Regions from separate parts of the Homo sapiens genome. Here region 1 is linked to region 2. The links are contacts of gene promoters, found by promoter capture Hi-C in human tissues and cell types (Jung and others, 2019). All regions are on one chromosome and are shown on one strand. Each heading gives the region's core, a stretch centred on a gene start or on the middle of the fragment in contact. The rest is flanking DNA. Distances are from core to core; before and after follow the strand shown. Region 1 overlaps PENK-AS1 (PENK antisense RNA 1). Region 2 holds the start of SDR16C5 (short chain dehydrogenase/reductase family 16C member 5).

Region 1 (4,111 bases), core at 950-3,449, 140 kb before region 2:
GTACTGAATATTATCCACAATAGATCACATTTTAGATCACAAAACATGTCTGAATGAATTTAAGAAAATTGAAAATTATAACAAATATCTTTCCTGATCACAATGGAATAAAAATAGAAATCAACAGCAGAAGGAAAACTTGAAAATTCAAAAATGTAGAAATGAAACAACACACTTTTGAATAACCAATAGGACAAAGAAAAAAATTAAAAAGAAAATTAAAAAATATCTTGAGACAAACAAAAACAAAATATGGTATATCATACCAAATCTTATGGGATGTAGCAAAGGCAGTACTAAGAGGAAAGTTTATAGTGTTAAACTCCTACACTTAAAAAGAAAAAATATCTTAAATAGAAGACCTAACTCTACACCTAAAGAAATTAGAAAAAAAGCAACCATGTGCAAATTTAGCAGAAGGAAGGAAATAATGTAGATTACAGCAGAAATAAATTAAATAGAGAATAGAAAAAAATCATTAAAACTAAGGATTTGTTTTTTGAGAATATCAACAAAATTGACAAACATTTGGCTAGACTAAGAAAAAAAGAGAAAAGATTCAAAGAAAACCGGAAAAAAAAGAGAAGCCATTACAACTGACGAATACAAAGGATCATAAGAGACTACTATCAACAATGATGCACCAACAAATTGGATAACCTAGAAGAAATTCCTAGAAACATTCAACCTACCAAGACTGAATCATGAAAAAATAGAAAATCTAAACAGACATAATTAACAAAGACATTGAATCAGTAGTCAAAAGTCCCCCAAAAAAGAAAAGCCCAAGACCACATAATTTCACTGGTGAATTCTACCAAACCTTTAAAGAAGAATTAATGCGAATCTTTCTCAAACACTCATAAAACATGTTTAAAGTGAGGAACACTTCCAAACTCATTATATGAGGCCAGCATTACCCTGATACAAAGGCCAGAGAAAGACACTATGAGAAAAGAAAGCTACAGGTCAATATCCCTAATAAATACACATGTAAATATTCTTAACAATATATGAGCAAACAGACCATTAAAAGGATCTTAACCATGACTCAAGTGGGAGTTACCCCTGGGATATAAAGATGGTTTATCATATGAAAATCAATCAATGTGATACACCACATTAACAGAACAAAGAATAAAAATCACAAATAATGATCTCAATAGATGCAGAACAAGCATTTGACAAAATTCAACACACTTTCATTAAAAAAATCAATACACAACGAAGAGAAGGAAATTATATCAACATAATAAAGGCTATATATGAAAAGTCCACAGCTAACATTATACTCGATGGTGAAAAACTAAAACTTTTCCTGTGACATCAAGAAGAAGAAAAGGATGCCTGCTCTTGCCACTCCATTTACCATAGTAATGGAAGTCCTAGCCAGAACAATTTGGTAAGAAAAAGAAATAAATGGCATTCAAATCTCAAAGAAAGAAGTAAAATTATTGCAGTTTGTGGATCACATGATCTTATATAGAGGAAACTGTAAAAGCTCCACCAATAAACTATTAGAACTAATAAATAAATTTAGTGACACTGAAGGATAAGAAGTAACATACAAACATCAGGTGTGTTTTTATACACTAATAAATCATCTGAAAAGGAAATTAATAAAATAATCCAATTTACAATGGCATCATTAAAGAATAAGCTTAAGCATAAGCTTAACCAAGGAAATAAAAAACTTACACACTGAAAACTACAAAACATTGCTGAAAGGAATTAAAGAAGAAAGAAAGAAATAGAAAGACATTCTATGTTAATGGATTGGAAGATTTAATATTGTTACAATGTCTGTACTACTCAAAGTGATCTACAGACCTGATGCAATCTCTATCAAAATCACAATGGCACTTTTTACAAAAATTAGAAAAAAATGATTCTAAAATTCAGATGGAACCACAAAGGACCCTGAACAGCCAAAACTATCTTAAGAAAAAAAGAACAAAGCTTGAGGTCCCACATTTCCTGATTTCAAAATATATTACAAAGCTACAATGGCAAAAAAAGAACACAGTATAATACTGACATAAATACAGATACATTAGTCAATGGAATAGAATAGACAGCAAAGAAATCCATGCATTTATGGTGAGTTGATTTTTAACAAAGGTGCAGAGAAAACACAATGGGGAACAAATAGTCTCTCCAACAGATGGTGTTGGGAAAACTGGATATACACATTAAAAAGAAGAAAATTGGATCATTATCTTACACAAAAATCAACTCAAAATGGGGTAAAGATTTATACATAAGATCCGAAACCACAAAACTACTAGAAGGAAAGCATTGTGGAAATGCTTCATTACTCTGGTGACAATTTCTTGGATAAGACACCAAAAAATAGGCAAGAAATGCAAAAATAAACAAGTGGAACCACATCAATCTAAAAAGCTTCTGCATAGCCAAGGAAACAGTCAACAGAGTGACAAGGTAACCTATGAAATGGGAGAAAATATTTGTAAGTCATATATTTCATAATAGGTTAATATCCAAAATATATCCAAACAATAGATTAAAACAACTTATTTTAAAATGGTCAAAAGTTTAGAATAGACATTTCTCCAGAGAATATATATAAATGGTCAACAAGTATATGAAAAGATTCTCATATCTTTTCATGATCATTAATCATCAGAGAAATGCCAATCAAAACGACAATGAAATATTATCTCACATCTGCTAAAATAGCCATTATGTTAAAAAAAAAAACAGAAATTAAGAAGTTTTAGCAAGGACATGGAAAAATTAGAACGCTTGTGACTGCTGGTGGAAAGGTAAAATGGTGCAGCCACTATGAAGATGGGTATGAAGGTTACTCAAGAAATTAAAAATAGAACTGCCATATGATCCAGCAATCCTACATCTGTGTATTTATCCAAATAATTGAAATCAGGATCTCAAAGAGATATTAGCACTCCCATGATCATTGAAGCATTCTACACAGTGTGAGATGGGGTCCAATTTCATCCATTTGCTTGTGGATATCCAGTTTTCCCAACACCATTGATTAAAGACAGCATCTTCCCCATTGTGTGTTTTTAGCATTTTTGTCAGAGATCAATTGATCATAAATCCATGGATTTATTTCTGGGTTCTCTATACTCTTCTGCTTTACCATTGGCCTATATGTTTATTTGTACGCTGATCTCATTCTGTTTTGATTACGATAGGTTTGCAGTATATTTGTTATCAGGTAATCTCTTCAGCTTTCTTCTTTTTCCTCAAGATTACTTTAGCTGTTTGGATGTTTTGTGGTTCCATACAGATTTTAGGATTATTTCTTCTATTTCTGTGGAAACAGATGCCATTGAAATTTTTATAGGGATTGCACTGAATCTTTAGATCCCTTTGGTAGTAGGAATATGTTAACAATATTAATTATTCCAATTCATAAACATGAGATATCTTTCTTTATGTCTTCCTTAATTTATTTCATCAATGATTCATAGTTTTCAATGTACAGATCTCTTACCCCCTTGGTTAAATTTATTCCTAAGTAATTTTTAACTCTATTGTTTGCTTGATTTCTTTTTCAGATAGCCATCATTAGTTTACAGAAACACAGCTGATTTTACTTGTTGATTTTGTATCTTGTAATTTCACTGAATTTGTTCATTAGTTCTAACAGGGTTTTTGGTGTGTCCTAGTTGTACATTTTATATACAAGTCTGCCTGTGATCCATTTTCAGTTAATTTTTTTAAAGGTGTAAGATCTGTGTCTAGTTTCATTTATTTGCATATGAATGTCCCATTGTTCAAGCACCATTTGTTGAAAAGACTTTCTCTGTTGTAGTGCTTCTGCTTCTTTGTCAAAAATCAGTGGGCTATATTTATGTGGGTAAATTTCTGGGCTGTCTATTCTGTTCCATTAACCTATTTGTCTATTCTTTTGCCAATAGCATACTGTTTTGATCACTATTTTTATAAGTCAGCTTTGTAGTAAGACTTGAAGTCAAGTGGTGTCAGTCCTCCAAGTTTGTTCTTCTCCTTCAGTAAGTGCTGACTATTCTGGCTTTTTTGCCATCCACATAAACTTTAGACTCAGTTTGTCAATAAACATAAAATACCTTGCTGGGATTTTTACTAGATTGCATTGAAT
Region 2 (3,982 bases), core at 314-2,813:
AATTTCTTTCTTGAGGTCCACCCAGGGCTTCTGACCAGAAAGAAGAGTGACAGCCTAGGATTCTGCTCAGAGAAGCCATGAAGATAATAGGAGGCTGGTGTTTCCCAGTGTCCACTCATCTGAACTCTTGCAGGCAGGCTGCACCATCAAGGGCCCATTACCCGACGTCTCTCTGCCTCAGTCCACTCTCACTCCCAGGTGCTGCTCACCTCCACACCTTAGCCCATTCTGGAAGGCCCTTTGAGTCCAACTGCCTCTCCTCCTGCAGGCTGGTTGTGGACTCTGGAAGCACCTGGGGTGCATGTCTATCACCCGCACTGTTTATGAATGTGTCTCCCTTCTCCCTCAGAAGCCCTGCAACTCCCCAGAGCCCCACACAGCAGTGTCGCTGTGTGGTGACGGCTGACTTGAAACCAATGCACGCACATTTACCCACTCACCTTCCCACACGCCTCGCATAGCTTGCCACAGCTCGCTGCTGCTGCCTAAAGCACACAAGTAACCTCTTAAGTACTGAAAAGACAGTCGAGGGTTTCCCCTGCACCTACTTTTCCAAGCTTATACGACCTGCCTGTTTCTTCTGTCACCCAAATAAAGAACAAATGTGCAGTTCCTCTACTCCAGACCTGTCCCAGATATGGGCTGGCTAAGGCTGCTCTTCGACCCCTCACCACTTTTCCTGTCCTACTCAGCCCCGGGATAAATTTCAAACCCAATCTCATCATGACTCCCCTGTTTTTCTTTCAACATCCCATAATTTATTGTCATTTCTGCCCCTCATTGCCCCCAGAAAAGTTCACCCTCTATTATTAGCATCTCAGTGGTGTCTTGTGCTTATATTAACTCTTTTATTGATTTATTAATGAATGTTTTTCCTTTTTTTTTTTCTTGACAGATATATCATCGCTGTTATCTTCTGGATCGCTGTACACCCAGATGCTTAATATATCTTGATTGGGTCAGAGTGCCTGGTGACTCTTACGCTAGCCTCATTTCTCGGCTTCATCTTGTTAGAACAAATTTCCTCGCCCTCTTCTCCTAGGCCGCCTGCCAGCGCCGCACCCACTCCTGCCCCTGCCTGCACCCCACCCACTTCCCGGGGACTTCCGAGCCCACGCCCACATCCTTTACCTCCAAGGGGCAAGGAAGCTGTTGACTTAAGATCCCATGTGGAGCAGTCAGATGCTGCTGGAGAACTCCCCGCACTGCAGGCTCCAGACACACGACCTGGCCCCTCCCCCGTGGACGCCTATACTGCTCTGTTCTCTAATTCCAGGGTTCCCAACCTCGGGGTTGTGCCTTGCAAATACCTGGGAAACTTTTCTAGCTAATGCCTAGGCCCCTACCAACCCAGAAATTCCCATCTAATAATCTAGGGTACAGCCTAGGCATTGAAACGTTAAGCCTAAGAGAAATCCGGCGCACGCATCCAGTTTCCACCACCGAATTTCCAGCTTCTTAAATCTGCAGGTCCAGAAAAAGAAGATGGGAGTGCTGCCCACGTCGCGCACTGGGGCTACGGCCGGCCCCACCCCTGGCGCTGCCGCGGCAGTCCCGCCCTTGGACTTGGGCGGCGCCTGGATAAACACCTGAACCTGACTGAGCTCCGAGCCAGGGACTCGGGTGCCTGGGGCAGACGAGGCCGGCTTCTCCGCGGACAGCTAGGGAGAGTGTCCTGGGTAAGTTGCCGAGGTCGTCGGTCCTGGGTGCTGGCTCCCGGAGGAGGTCGCGCTGGCGGGGGTCGGGCGAGGCCGCCCTTTGGGCTGGTTTCACGCTGGGTCGCTCGCAAGGGGGCGCGGGTCGCCGAGCCGCGGCAGGACCCACCCGCGAGCTGGTGAGAAAGCAGCTGCACCGGGTAGCGCACGGCTGAGCGTCCCAGAAGCCCGGGCTCCCGTGGCTACGGCTAACGCAGACCCCTCGCCCCCGGGGGTGAGCTGCCAGCCTCCCTCCCCACCCGGAGCAGAGGGCAGGATGCCTCCCCGGACCCTCTTCTTCGGTCCGTTCTGCCCAGGTTCCCTGCTCTCTGCTGCTCAGTGCATCCACCTTCCGGGTGGATATCAACCCCCATATCACCCCTTTCAACCCAAGCTGTGATTGTCAGTCTGTCTGCCCTCCCGTTTCGTCCGGGTGCCCTCACCAGAGCCGACTTGCTGCCGCGCACTGGTATGGGAAGCCGAGGGCGCCTGTTTGGATTGGGTAGGCCGCGAGATAGGGACACCTAGAAGACTTCTGCCAGATTAAATTGTATACGCTCCGTAACATTCTAGGAAAGTCTTTGCAGTAAAATGGAACCGTACATTCACTCTTGTTTGTAAGTATACTATAACCATATTTAATTGATATAGCCAGGGATTATTAATTCATATGCTTAACAGGACCAGTGGAAGTTCTAGCCATTAATTATTTTGCTGTCATTCTGTGCCTGGCACTGTTCTAGAAAGGCCTCCATGTTTTATGGCTGTGCCACATTATTATGGGGATTGAGGAGCAGAGGGGGAGACATGTAAGCTGGCAGGTGTTGAAATCCAAACAGCTCCTCTTGCACCCCCTCCCCAACCCCTTGCACCCCGCAGAGGACTTTGTGCAGGGCAATGCCTTTTTTTTTTTTTTTTTCTAATTTGTTCGAAGGTTTCACACAAGCTAGTAGTGACCACATAATGCTCCTTAAAACTTTACCTATATAAACTGGTTTAATTCTCACAGCTCCTCTGTGTGGTAAGTATTCCTATGCACTATTAGAAACTCCCTTTTTAGAGGAGGAAACTGAGGCACAAGAGATTAAATCATTTCTACCAAAGTTGCAGGGAAAATCAGTGATATATCTGGAATTCCAACCCAAACTTTAATCTCTAGACCTCATTGCCTGTGTGGGTACCCAGCAGGCACCCTAAACTTCAACTGGGGAAGGGAGGTAACTCAGGCTGACAAGCTCTTAGAAATCTAGTAAGCATCTGCCAAGACAGGGTTAAAAGATGGACATATTTTAGGTCTTGCATCAAGCCAACATTGAGACAGTGGAACACTGAAATCTAGAATGTCCTGACATTAAGAGCGTTCATGTCACCCAGGTCAATGTTGAGACTTCTGGCCACTGCTGAGGTGCTGGAGCCCTGTGATGGGAGAAGTAGACCTCTGTCCCTCTATGTGAATTCACATAGTGATATAAAAGGGAATGTGGTGGTCTGACCAACTACTCCTGGTGTGGATTTTCCAAAGTTGGCGACGCCCAGGCTGCTGTCTGAGAAGGGCGCCTAGGGTTTCCCATTACTGTGTGCACAGTCTGACCCTCATCCTTGCAGATCCACAGGTACAGGCTCCATGTATTTGATATGAGAGTCCTCTTTCAGGACACCTTTTCAAGTTCTGCAGTGCCTGAGAGGCCTGATCAATCATTCAAAAGTTACTCTGTGAATGTAAATCAGAGCAAAGATCACAGAGAGTTTGAGGTCTATTTCATCAAAGCATGGATGAAAACGTTCTTCATTTGACCAGAGCATCCATGTTCCTTAGAGCAAACATTCTTATTCTCTGGACAGCCCTGGACACACAGGTCAAACCTGCCTTAAAACAAACTATTTTGTCCCTCTGCCAGGAAAGCTACTGCTCAATATCCCTACCTCCCACCATCATCATTTGGATATCCACTCAAAGGGTCACTTTCCAGCAGACATCTGTTGCTTCCTCTCCCAAGCCCAATCTGAATCAGCTCTCCGATCATCCTCTCCATAGCACACTGCACTTTTCTTTATAACACTATGGCTTATAACGATCTGTTTATTTGTTGAATACGTCTCTTCAACTAGATTACTTGGCTCACCTGCACAGAGATTATGAGAGGCTGCCCATCCCCTCAGCCCCAGTGCCCAGATAGAACCAGCACAGGGTGGATACTCAATAAACATAACACATGAACCAATCTGGCCCTCACCAGCTAACCAGCACAGGGACCCTGAACAAGTCACATACATCTTCTCTTCGATCC

Evidence for each region. The method cuts DNA at HindIII sites, captures the fragments that hold promoters and counts their contacts. A contact is called where the count stands out against the background at its distance.
Region 1: a contact is called between a fragment that was not itself captured here and the fragment with the promoter of SDR16C5 in region 2, in 1 of the 25 tissues and cell types used here (small bowel).

Annotation. Positions count from the first base shown.
Region 1 is chr8:56,456,249-56,460,359 of GRCh38, reverse strand. The region is part of intron 1 of PENK-AS1 (PENK antisense RNA 1); the gene reads right to left. Among named protein-coding and RNA genes, the nearest start is that of PENK, 12 kb to the right of the region's middle. The HindIII fragment of the contact is 3,745 bases long and covers 327-4,071 here.
Region 2 is chr8:56,317,756-56,321,737 of GRCh38, reverse strand. SDR16C5 (short chain dehydrogenase/reductase family 16C member 5) reads left to right here and starts at 1,563. Exons shown (of 7, transcript NM_138969.4): 1 at 1,563-1,679. The HindIII fragment of the contact is 11,880 bases long and covers 1-3,982 here.